Linked DNA regions of Homo sapiens: all the other regions are linked to region 2. The links are contacts of gene promoters, found by promoter capture Hi-C in human tissues and cell types (Jung and others, 2019). All regions are on one chromosome and are shown on one strand. The core of a region is centred on a gene start or on the middle of the fragment in contact, and the rest is flanking DNA. Distances in the headings are between cores, read along the strand shown. Region 1 overlaps PCDH10-DT (PCDH10 divergent transcript). Region 2 holds the start of PCDH10 (protocadherin 10). Region 3 overlaps PCDH10 (protocadherin 10).

Region 1 (4,027 bases), core at 1,410-3,909, 36 kb after region 2:
ATGTTATTCTTTGGGGTGTGATCTGTTCCTGATTAGTTTAATGTTTGTGCCTTAATTGTAGTATATCCTTAAGGAAATTGAGTATCGGTAGACTATTTATTGCAGTTGAAGATATAGCAAAAGAAATAAGTTTCTAGGAGGGAAATACCTACAAGTGAATGATAATACAGTGTTAGTGTAAAACAGTCTTTCACTAAAGAATATATATACCATTATTTACTCAAAAAATATTCAGCAACAATTTTACCCACAGGTGAAATGCACTGGAGTGTCCTAATTTTGTATCATGTGTCCATTCTGCCATTCTCAGGCTAATGGCACTCTTCACGACAAGCCTGATTGCACTGTTAAGCTCCAGAGGAAAAAATGTGGCTATAGAGTATATTAAAATACATACAATTGAAAAGGAAGATGTTCATTTTTGCAAGCAGAAGATTACCAACAGAATGCTAAAATTAAAGGTCAGTTTTAGAATGAGCTCTCATATTATGGAGTTTACGAACAAACTATGTATTATATAAGAAAAGAAAAAACAATTTTATACCGAAGTAGTGCTTTCAAAAAAGTATTTTAGTTTTCTTATAGAAAAGTAGAAAAATGAAAAATACATGAACCCTTTCTTAACCCTAATCTATGTTTTTTAAGAATTTTTAAAATGTTTCCTGTGTGAACTAAAGAGGCAAGAAAGTGAAAAGTGTTTTTTAAAAATGGAGACACTATGGGAAAATATAGGCAAATGAAGGAGTACAAATAGAAAATGTAATTTTATTGAATAACAGAAAAGAAAATAGTGCAAAACAGCCTCTCTATTCTTTTGTTCTTGGTATCAAAGCTTTTATTCCTGGTGATTGGTGGAATCCTTTTGGTTACTAAGCTCCCTTGAACAAAATCTAAAATCATATTAACTCAAATTCTGTGCTATTACAAACCATCTCATCTCATAACAGGACTTTAGTATATTTTTCTTAATATCAAAGAAATTATATGGGCTAAATAATTCTCAAAGCACCACATAAAGTTTAGGTATTTCTTTAGAAGAAACAAAATATATGTTCTTTTTCACATTTGTGTTTGATTTTATTATAAAATTTGACAGAAGAAACCAAGGAAATGGAAAAGAGAAACCTCTAGAGACTTTGTATTTTCTTAGCTGACAAAAAAGCTTCAGTTTTAGCAATTTTTCTTTCTCTATTTCCTTTTTATAAGGTCTGACTGAAACCAGACAAGAAAAGAATATTACGTTCTGTTTTTGGCTTTTTAGGTTTTTTTTTTTCAGCTAAAAGAAAGATTTGAAGTGCCTTTACAAGGTTATTTCCAAGGTAATTTTTCTTTTATTTTTAAATAACAAATTTTTTGAGATTCAAAATCAACATCCAGTCCATACGCCACTGAATATAAAGTTCCCAGTGGTGAAATACGCACGAAGTTAGCCTTGCCAGACTGTGACTGACAAATGTGGGGATAAGGAAAGGAAAGATTTGAAATATAAAAATTCCAAGACTAAGCTTTGGGCTTTGGTTTTTGGTGATGAGAGTTAGAGGCACAAGAGAAATCAGTTGTATTACAACTGTAAACAACACACACCTTGCTTTGCTTTTGTGTCTGCCTACATGCTTATAGTCCTAAAGATTTATGGGAAGTGCAGAAAGAAGAATGCAAGGCCTCTTTTAATATAATCAATCCTATTGCCGTCACAGAAGAAAGTATGTTACCTGTGATAGCAGCTTAACGTCACAAAGTTTCCATCTTAACAGTACAATCCACAGCTTGTATTGCTCTAAGGAGCCATTTGGATAGTTAATATGGAGGGTGCAGAAGTAAAGAATGTAATAATGCTATAATTGTTCTAGTGAATACTATGCTTAAGTGATGCTCAAATTAAGATGTTTGACCAACAGAACTCTTTCTTGAATTCCAGGTAGCCATGATCTTTGCACATACTTTTAATTTAAAAAAAAAGATTTTTAAATTTTAAATATTATGTTATCCAGCAACTCAGATCTCCTTGAGGTTACCAATAGACATGATTCATTTGCTGTTGCTGTTCTTTTCTATATCACACCATATGACATTTCTTTGAAAAGTCATAATCTTTTCATTTCAGCGTTAGCAAAACCATCAAATTTAAATCATTGATAGTAATCCTTAAAAGGTTTTGAGATGATAATGACTCTATCTGTGAAGTATCTAGTCATTTAGTTCATTTCAAATACCAATTATCATTTTGATTTACTTGAGAATAATGAATGTAAGAAGCTTTGTGGTAATTTTTATGTGGGTGGAAAAATATAGCATGCACTCATGAATGTCTTGGTATTTGTTTCAGATAGATTTTTTTATTACAGCACATGGTAAAAATTATGCCACAAACTATAAATAAATTAATTATCATAGATAATGCTCCCATACATAACATTAGGTACTTTAAGTAGCTAGGATCAAGGAGGCAGCAATGCCCTGACTTTTTTTTCTGAAAGCGAGACAGTTACCTGCATTTATCTGGTTTCTGATTTTTTGAATTCCCCCAGAAAGTGGGAAGAATTTCCTTCCTTTAGAATCTTGAAATCTGTGTATATAACCCTAACTAATATAGTTTAGTTTTGCCCTGTTTTGAACTTTATATAACCAAATTTTGTGGTATGCAGTATCCTATGGTGTTATCTTCACTGAATAACATGTTTATATAAAATTCACCCATGTTGTTGGTTGTAGCTTTTGATTTTCCCCTTTATGCTGCATAGTATTCCATTATATGCTTATACAACAATTTATTAATCCATTTGATTGTGTATTTGGTTGTTTGGTGGGAGGTATAATAGTGCTGCTATGATCAATCCTATATATTTTCTATAATACATGCACAAACATTACTGTATGTATGAAGCGGAAGTGGTGACTCGAATGTATGCATTCAAAAGTTATTACAGCAATATATGCTTTTGTCTGCAGTTTTAATGATTCTGGGTGCTACATACAGTAAGAATCAACTGATGTTTTCAGGCTTTATGATTGTTGCAAACTGGTGGCTGTTTAGTGGTATTGTGATTTTAATTTGGAATTCCTTGCTTACTAATAACCTTGAACACCATTTGGGTTTATAGGGTATTTAAATTTTCTCTTTTTGTAGTTTCTCTTCAAGTCTTTTGACCATTTAAAAACATTGTTTGCTGTGGTTTTTTGATTGATTTTTTTTGAGTTCCTTTCATATTCCACTTTTAAATCCTTTGTCAGTGTTATGTGTTGCAATTATCTTTTTCTGTGCTGTGACATCCTTTTACTTTCTTCATCTTTTTTTGATGAACAGTTTAAAGAAAAAAAGAAACTTACTCACTTTAAAGTACTTTTGGTGTTTTGTTTATTTTTTTCCCCAAGATTATAAAGATACTATCCTGTTTTACTATGTTATTCTCTTAAGCCTTCGCAGAGTTTTTTATTTGCTTGCTTTTGCTTTTTAATTATTTTTTGACATATACGTCTATAATCTACCTGGTGTTATTTTTGCCTAGTGTGATTGGTTTGGTCCTGTTTAATTTTTTTCATGTAGATACCTAATTATCCCATTTCTTGAGAAGTCTGATATTTCCATACAATTCTTTTCTGACAAATCTACATTGCTTCTTTCTCATAAGTAAAATATCTATAATGCATGGGTCTGGGTTCAAGCTCTCCATTCTGTTTCCTTGTTCCATTGTCTGCCTTTGTGTCAGTACCAAACTGTCCTAATTATTGTGGCTTTATAGCAAGCCTAAATATCTTATAGAGTATTTGCTTCAATCCTGTGATTATTTTAAAAGATCTTGACCATTGATTTCCACATAAATATTTGAATTAACTGGTCAAATTCCACACATACACCCTACTAAAAGTTTGGTTTATGATTACATTAAATTAGTCTACAAATTAGGAGGAGATTCAGATCTCTGCAGTACTGATTTTTCCAATCCATGTAATACTATGTATCTGGATTTATTTAATTCTTTAAAATTCATCAATAATTTTTTTTTAATCTTGCACATCATTTATGTAT
Region 2 (4,009 bases), core at 1,476-3,975:
CATTTCGTTGCCACGCACGATGCTGTAAGTGAGCCGGGCGTTCTCGCCGTCGTCCGCGTCCACGGCGGCCACGCGGGTGAGCAGGTAACCCGGCTCCGCCGAGCGGGGCAGCACCTCACGCGCTGGAGTCCCGTTGCGCCCTGGTAGAGGCGCCACGATGGCAGGGGCGTTGTCATTTTGATCCACTATGAGGATGTTGACAGTGGCGTTACCAGCCAGCGCCTGGGGGCTGCCAGCGTCCCGGGCTTCCACCTGAAAACTGAAGTCCTTCAGCTGCTCATAGTCGAAGGAGCGCAGGGCGTACAAGTAGCCGTTCTCAGAGTTGATAGAAACGTAGGTGAAGACGCTCATGCCCTGGATCTGGCACTCGAGGATAGAGTAGGCAAGCTGGGCGTTGGCGCCCTCATCCCGGTCGGTGGCGCTCACCGCGTAGATGTAGGCGCCAGGCACGTTGTTTTCAGTCACATACACGTCGTAGACCGGCTGGCTGAAACGCGGCGCGTTGTCGTTCACATCCGACACTTGTACCTGGATCGACTTACTGGTGGAGAGCGCAGGCTCGCCCCGGTCCCGAGCCACTACAGTCAGGGTGTAGGAGTCCCCCGCCTCTCGGTCCAGGGGGGCTTCGGTAACGATGGTGTAGTAATTCTTAAAGGAAGACTTGAGGCGGAAAGGCACGTCTCCCAGTAGCTCGCACTGCACCTGCCCATTCTCCTCTGAGTCGCGGTCAGTCACGCTGAAAAGGGCCACCACAGTGCCGGGCGCCGCGCCCTCACTCACCGCTTCCTTCACGGTGCTGAAGCTGATCTCTGGCGCGTTGTCATTAGCATCCAGTACTCGCACTAGCACCTTGCAGTGCGCAGGCACGGCGTTGGGGCCCAGGTCCTTGGCTTGCACGTACACTTGGTACACTGGGCTCTCTTCATAGTCCAACTCGCCGCTTACCTCCAGTCTGCCAGTGCGCGGCGAGAGTCCGAAAAGCTCCCGCGCCCGGGGCGAAATGTGGCTGCTGAAGGAGTACACGACCTCACCGTTCTGGCCCTCGTCCGGGTCGGTGGCGTTGAGCTGGATCACGAGAGTGCCTGGGGGAGAGTTCTCTGGTAGGGACACAGTGTAGACGGGTTGGTCGAAAGCGGGCACATTGTCATTGGAGTCCAGCACTCGGATGGTGAGTAGGGCCGTGCCGGTGCGCTGCTGCTGGGGGGGCAGGCCTGCTCCCCCGCCACCTCCCCCTCCTTCTCCTACTCCTCCCCCACCTCCTCCGTCCACCGCGGTCAGCACGTAGCGGTGCACCGCTTGCTGCTCTCGGTCCAGTGGCTTCTCCAGCACCAGCTCAGCGAATCGGTTGCCATCCCCCTGGGTCTGCACGTCCAGGGAGAAGTAGCTGTTGGGGGTGATCTCGTAGTCGCGCAAGGAGTTGGTGCCCACGTCTGGGTCGAATGCGCTCTCCAAGGGGAAGCGAGTGCCTGGCGTGGCGCTCTCAGAGATTTCCACCGTCAGGTCTGGCTCCGGGAAAGAGGGGGGGTTGTCATTAATGTCCAGCACCTCGATCTCCACCTGGAACAGCTCCAGGGGGTTCTCCAGAAAGACCTCCAGGTGCAGGACACAGGAGGGGCTCTGTTTGCAGATTTGTTCGCGGTCTATTTTCTCGTTCACGTACAGCACCCCTGTCTCCAGGTTGAGGTCTAAGTAAGGGGTCCTTGAGTTGGGCACCGTCTGAAACCCGCGAGCCGAAAGTTTTGTAATGTCCAGACCCAGATCTTCAGCGATATTCCCCACGAAAGTGCCATGTTCCTGCTCCTCCTGTACCGTGTAGTGAAGCTGGGAAAAGACTCCTTCCACCATCCAGAGCAAGGCAAACAATAATAGCACAATCATCTCCAAAAGGAAAGGAAGTAGCTTCCCGCAGCCAGTCAGCCACCCAATCACCTCCCCCACCACCACGAAACAAAAAAAAATCTGAAAAAATACAAATAAAAGTGCGCTACGTGGGGGCTCCTGTGGCTTTCTGTCTTTAAAAATCTTACTCCTTTTGCTTCATTTTAGAGCTTCCCGCAATCCAGCCTCATTTTTTTTTAAATCTTAGCACAGGAAGGGTGACAGGCGTCCCCTTTCCTCATCTGTAATCTTTCCACTGACTAATTAATAAAATAACAATAATACAATAGTCAGCGTCCTTTATTCCGACAGTCTTGGCGCTGGCAAATCCCAAAGAGGAAATTTCGATATTTCAAGACTGTCCTCGGTTTGTCTTCTTGCTGATGGGAGGAGAACGAGGAGGAGGAAAAAGAGGAGGAGGAGGAGGAAGAAGAAGAAGAGGAAGAGGAGAAGGAAAAGGAGATGCTGTTGGCACCGTTAAACATGCCTCTTAATGTCAACGGCTGGCAAATGCAAAAGGGCTTAAAATCAGCGATATAATTTTGTGCCGGAAAAGCACAGAACGGCTCTGCAGCTTAAAACTTTCATTCTCTTCATTTCTCCGGATGGATGTTCTTCTTGACATTTTTTTCCTCTTTCGCTCTATTTGTATTTTTTGTCTTTCAGAGTCTTGGTTCCCTCTGTCCTCATCTCCACCGTTACTTGCCTCTCTGTAAGTGTAATGAGCAGTTTCTTTTCTGCTGTTTTCTTCCCAAGCCTCTTTCCCTCTAACCTGTCTCTTTTTCCTTCCAGTCCTTCCTTCCTCCTGCTTCAGCCTCTGAGCCTGTGGTCTGGGCTGGCAGTTTCTGAGCTCCGAGCGCTCGGCTTCTCCGTTTTTGCGCAGCGCCCTCATTCTGCCAACCAATCGCCCAGGAGCACCACCCACCGAGCTGCCGATGATTGGCCAAACTGGCCGCCAAACAGACACGTCACGCGGCAGCCGGGCGGGGCGGGACAGAACTCTCGCCCGAGCGGCCGGGGTGAGTGTGAGTGTGAGAGCGAGAACAGCCCCGCAGGTCCCGAGGCGCTGGCTGGGGACAATGCCGCGGAAAGTTCCCAGTCCCCAGCCGCAGGTAATGGGGAGGGAATAGAGAGGTTCCCCTGTTTGCATCAGCAAATGCGAAAACATAATAGCAACAGCTGCGATATCCTCTCCTAGGAGCGGGATTTCCAATGATGCTAACATTCTTTTTCCTTTAAGGTATTTTCCCTAATACGCATCATGGAAATAAATCATCGAGAAGGGAAAAAGTAGCGCAGGGCCCACTAATTGGCAAGGGTTACCTAATTAAGGGACCCTAGCAGAGACTGGCAGGGCATTTTAAAAGTGAGTATTATATGGCATGTGTCAATCTAAAGGTGAGGGGGTCTGACGGGGCCGTGAGGAAAGGCGCGAAGCATACGGAGTAGGGGGTGGAGGTGACTCCTAAAAAGCGGAGGAATTCACGCTAAAGGATGTGGGGATGACAGCGCTTACAGACGGGCAGACGCGTTCGACGTGCTTCTTTCCTCCCAAAATACATATTCACAAAATACTTACCAAGTAGATTAACTCACTCGAGGACCTAGCTTCGAGCCGTGAGCGCGTTCATCAGTGACTGAGGAGTTGATTTGAGCCGCTTCCTACAAGCCCGCCATCCTAACGCCGGGCTCTGGGGCATCCGGCACACAGCACCGCCAAGCGCTGCAAAGCGCCTCTGATATCCCTGCGCCTTGTGCGGCCAAGTGCCACGCAGCGGCTGGGAACACCGGCTATTTTCTATTTTTTTTTTGGCAATTGGAGATCGATCCCTTTACCCACCATGCTAGATTAGACCACTGATTTCTGCCAATCCTGGGGTCAGCCCGCGGGATGAGGACAGTGGGGCGGCGGCGAACGCGGGCGGGGTGGTGGGCAGGGCCCGTGCACACGAGGGGCCCGAGTGTGCACCGCTGCGGGTATCTGCGAACACGTTTGCACATGCACGGTACTTGCATCCATCCTCCCTGGCCCAGGGCTTAGCTCTGTGTAAGCCCCAACGGAGCCTCCCCGAGTTCCGAAGGACGCGCTTGACCAGCTGTGAGTGCCCCTTCCGGAGGCGCAGGGGCAACG
Region 3 (3,901 bases), core at 1,074-3,573, 43 kb before region 2:
TATGTATACAGCAGTATAAAATAATTTATTACATTTACACTCATTTTACTTATGTATTATTATAGCATTCACAGTAACAAACACTGTAGTTAAGATTGAAACTCATCTTTTGTTATAATACCCTGTTTTCACTCACAGATAACTGTCTCAAAAATGTGTTTAGAGCTGAAATTCCCTGCTTACTTTCAGCTCTAGCATGTATGAATGTATTGGAAGTCTGAGTTCCATCATTCAGAAATTTTTGAGTCTCATGTGAAATTTAGTATTTTTTGAATGATGAATGCAAGATTTTTATGCAACTCAAAAACATCTGGAGAGTAAAACTTCAAACTAAGCATGTGACAACTTTTCAAGAAATAAAAGCAATTTTTCTAATTTTACAAATACTTAAAAAATAACAGTGATTAGAAATACACGCATGCACACTAAAAGTATTAGAATTTTAGTCGTATTATTGCCTGCAATACTCTGGCGGCACCCATCTACCTGCATTCATACAGAATGCTATAATCTAAAACCTATGCCAAGATTTGAAGAAAAGAATACTCTACTGAACAGTTTCACAAATTACTGTATAAGGATTTTGTCTGACTTAGCAGAGGGATGTTTGTTGAAGTACTAACAATATATAAAATAATTTTACTACTCCATGGTGTAAAAAATATGGAATTCCATTATTTTCTGTTTTTCCTTGTTAAAAAGGAACACAAAAGGATGTTAAGTGCAAAGCCTTTACCACTACAAAATTAGACTTGAAAAAGATAAAGAACTCAAGAATTTGTAATATGAAAAATATAAGATTTTCAGAAAAATCATCAAGTATACCAATATTTTAAGTATTTTTGAGTTCCTTGGGTATCAATAGCACACATAGAAACATGAGGGGGAAAAACACATGCAATGACAAATAACAGTGCTATGATCAGTCAATAACTTAAATACTTTTCTTGATCTTGCTGAACTTTTGCCACACTCTGCCTGAGTAATTGTTTTAAAGACTAACTGAGCTCCAGTAAATAATGTTTAGAAGGTAAAATGGTACAATTAACGTACAGTTGTTAAAGATTATATTGGGAATTGTGAGATTCTTTTTCCTCCTCTTATTGAAGAAGCAAGATAGCTTCTATAATACAGAGAATCTGATGGCAAATTACAATCCAATTAACAAATAAAACAATGAGAAATTAAAATATTTAAATATTCTACTATAGTTCTTAATTTGCAATGTTTGATAAAGGCAGTGCATTTAATATCTTTAAAAAATAAAATACACATATTTCCTTAATATTTGCCAAGAAAAGATGATACATATATCATTGACGCTATTATATCTGTGAAGTAATTCTGATGTGATATTTAAATTTGATTTAAGATGATTTCACCAAACTATGTTCACACGTTAAAAATTAGAATTCTACATGTGGATGAAATATTTTCTAAAAATTGTCTTTTGACATACCTTTGAAACATTAAGACACTGTTTCCACAGGAAATTTTTTTTGACTTTGACTGCTCTAAAACTAACCATGTTAACAAGGAGTAAATGACATGATTTTTTTTTCTGAAATAATTTATTGACGAAATACTGTCTAATACGATGGATATTATTCTTTGATGTATATAAAATTATGTAAGATTGGATATTAGAATGACCAGATTAAAGAGAAAACCTATCCTAAAATTCCTTGATATATTAATCTAGTAAATGCTTAATTAGAAACCTTCATTATTTGTTGGTTGCACTTTCCATTTTATAGTCCCCCTCATTGGAAGAAAACATTTTAACCAACTTACAAGAATCATATCCTTACTCTGTTGTAACTTCTAATTTACTTTGGATGCAACAGATAAGTTGATTAATGACCTAATAATGTAGCATTTTATCCTTAAACAATTCTATTTGTCCCGCAAATTAGGAAGAAGTTCTGGTTTTGGTTTTGTAGATTGATGATAACTAAAATGTAAGTTAGTATAACTAGTTCCTAGGATATATGAAAATAACTAATACACAAATATATAATAAAAAAGTTGGTTCAAAGGAGATTATATACAATGATATAAAAGGTTAAATAATTAAAGAAAATGTCTTTGAGGTAAATGACAATATAATTACTATACATGAAGTGAGTATAATCTTATTTTCAATGCATGCAGTAAGGAAGATGGATGTGGATATTCACCCATGATTGCAAAATGATGCGTGAAACATTTTAATTAAAGCAGAGTGACTCAACAAGAAAATCATTTTCTTGCTAAAAAAAAGAGTTGGAACAAACAGACTTTTTTCCAGTTAAATTATGTATAAACATTTCCTTACTAAAATAGTCTATCATTCAAAATATTAATGTAGTAATGCCAAAGTTTAAGAAAATGTTACTGCTGCACTTAGTGAATTTATGTGCTTTTTGTATTACATATGATCTGTTAGCTTCATATATGTTTAAAGAGACTTCAAAAGGCTGGAACATTACATACATTATTTTGATATATGAACTGATTGGAATATGATATATTAATATCTAATTTGATAACAGTCAAATGAGTGATACCAATATATCACTCTAAATGTACATATCAGGACCTAAGTGTGTGTGTGTGTGTGTGTGTGTGTGTGTGTATATATATGTATTTTAAAGTTAAATCTAGGGAAAAATTTCCACTTAAGTTACATAAAATTTGATGAAGAACATTTGTCAAATGTTAAGTTTTAGTCTATTCTTTAATAACACAGTGCAGCTCAAACTGTCATTGAATATAAGATCAGTTAAAAATTAAGGAAAGTATTTCAAAACAGGTTTCTAATTTGAACTGGGCAAACATTTTGATATAATGTTGAAGCTTTGATATGATGTTTTGATATCATAGTTTAGAGGGCGAGGGGAGCTGTGACAATTCTGTTTTTTGCTTGAAAGATTATCTTATATTCTCTGATTTTTTTCCTCTCTCGAATGTGTTCTAACAAGGCATACACAACAGTAGAAAAAATATATAAAAGAAAGGAAAGTGCGTCTTACTAAATTTAATAATTAATATTGTTGACATAAAAGTAAAAGGCAAGCTTAACTTTTGAAGGCTGACTCATGAAGAATTTTTTCATTAATCAAACACTGACTACATTTAAGCTATAAAATTTTCACATGGAATACTGAAACAATAATGTACCATGATTCTATCTCTAAATTTATTTTAAATTTAGAGCTTTCATATTTTATAGTTATTCTTTACCAGTTCAGATGTTTCTATATCTCTATATATTCATATAGAATTATAGATTTTATATTCATGTGTAATTAAGTCACAAAACTATGTAAAATAAAATTCTGTGTGAGTGATATGACTGATGACTTCTTAAAATAGTAATCTTCAATTACATATTTTACACCACAAAATGTACAGACACCCAGTTTTTTTCTAACAACAAATACAGGTGAATTTATCGATTCTTTATAAAAGCTTTAAGTGATTCTAAATTCAAAGTCATAGAAATAGAATCAGACTTATGCAGATTGTTAGATAGTTTGATAGTACATAGTCAGTGCTCTGTCTGATAACATCAATAGCTACATCTTTGGCATTGAAAATTCAATATGAGTTTTTGACAAAATTTTGTAGCTTAGAGCATCATTTTCTTTTAAACAAGGAAAAACACGGTTGAGTAAGATATGGAAATTGGGAGAAAACTATTAATGATTTTTTCTTAGTAAGTTTGTCTTTGGGACCCTGAATTACCTTTTATTTTATTGTATGATGTGGACTGTATGCATCCATTTAAAAACCAACTGAGTTGTACCACATTTTAGGAAAATTATATAATATAATATATATATTTTATATTTATTTAGAAGCTTTGAAATAGTACAGTAAACACTTTGCAACACGGTGTATAAACTACAGAATGTCT

What was found. The method cuts DNA at HindIII sites, captures the fragments that hold promoters and counts their contacts. A contact is called where the count stands out against the background at its distance.
Region 1: a fragment that was not itself captured here is called in contact with the fragment with the promoter of PCDH10 in region 2 in 2 of the 25 tissues and cell types used here (hippocampus and psoas muscle).
Region 3: a fragment that was not itself captured here is called in contact with the fragment with the promoter of PCDH10 in region 2 in 2 of the 25 tissues and cell types used here (hippocampus and pancreas).

Annotation. Positions count from the first base shown.
Region 1 is chr4:133,111,930-133,115,956 of GRCh38, reverse strand. The region is part of intron 7 of PCDH10-DT (PCDH10 divergent transcript); the gene reads left to right. Among named protein-coding and RNA genes, the nearest start is that of PCDH10-DT, 35 kb to the left of the region's middle. The HindIII fragment of the contact is 3,323 bases long and covers 998-4,027 here.
Region 2 is chr4:133,148,010-133,152,018 of GRCh38, reverse strand. It overlaps PCDH10 (protocadherin 10), which reads right to left and starts at 2,725. Exons shown (of 5, transcript NM_032961.3): 1 at 1-2,725. The coding sequence starts at 1,878. PCDH10-DT (PCDH10 divergent transcript) reads left to right here and starts at 2,903. Exons shown (of 9, transcript NR_125885.1): 1 at 2,903-2,990. RefSeq lists a silencer at 2,672-2,811 and an enhancer at 2,922-2,981. The HindIII fragment of the contact is 10,822 bases long and covers 1-4,009 here.
Region 3 is chr4:133,190,681-133,194,581 of GRCh38, reverse strand. It overlaps PCDH10 (protocadherin 10), which reads right to left. Exons shown (of 5, transcript NM_032961.3): 5 at 1-3,901. Among named protein-coding and RNA genes, the nearest start is that of PCDH10, 43 kb to the right of the region's middle. The HindIII fragment of the contact is 6,018 bases long and covers 1-3,901 here.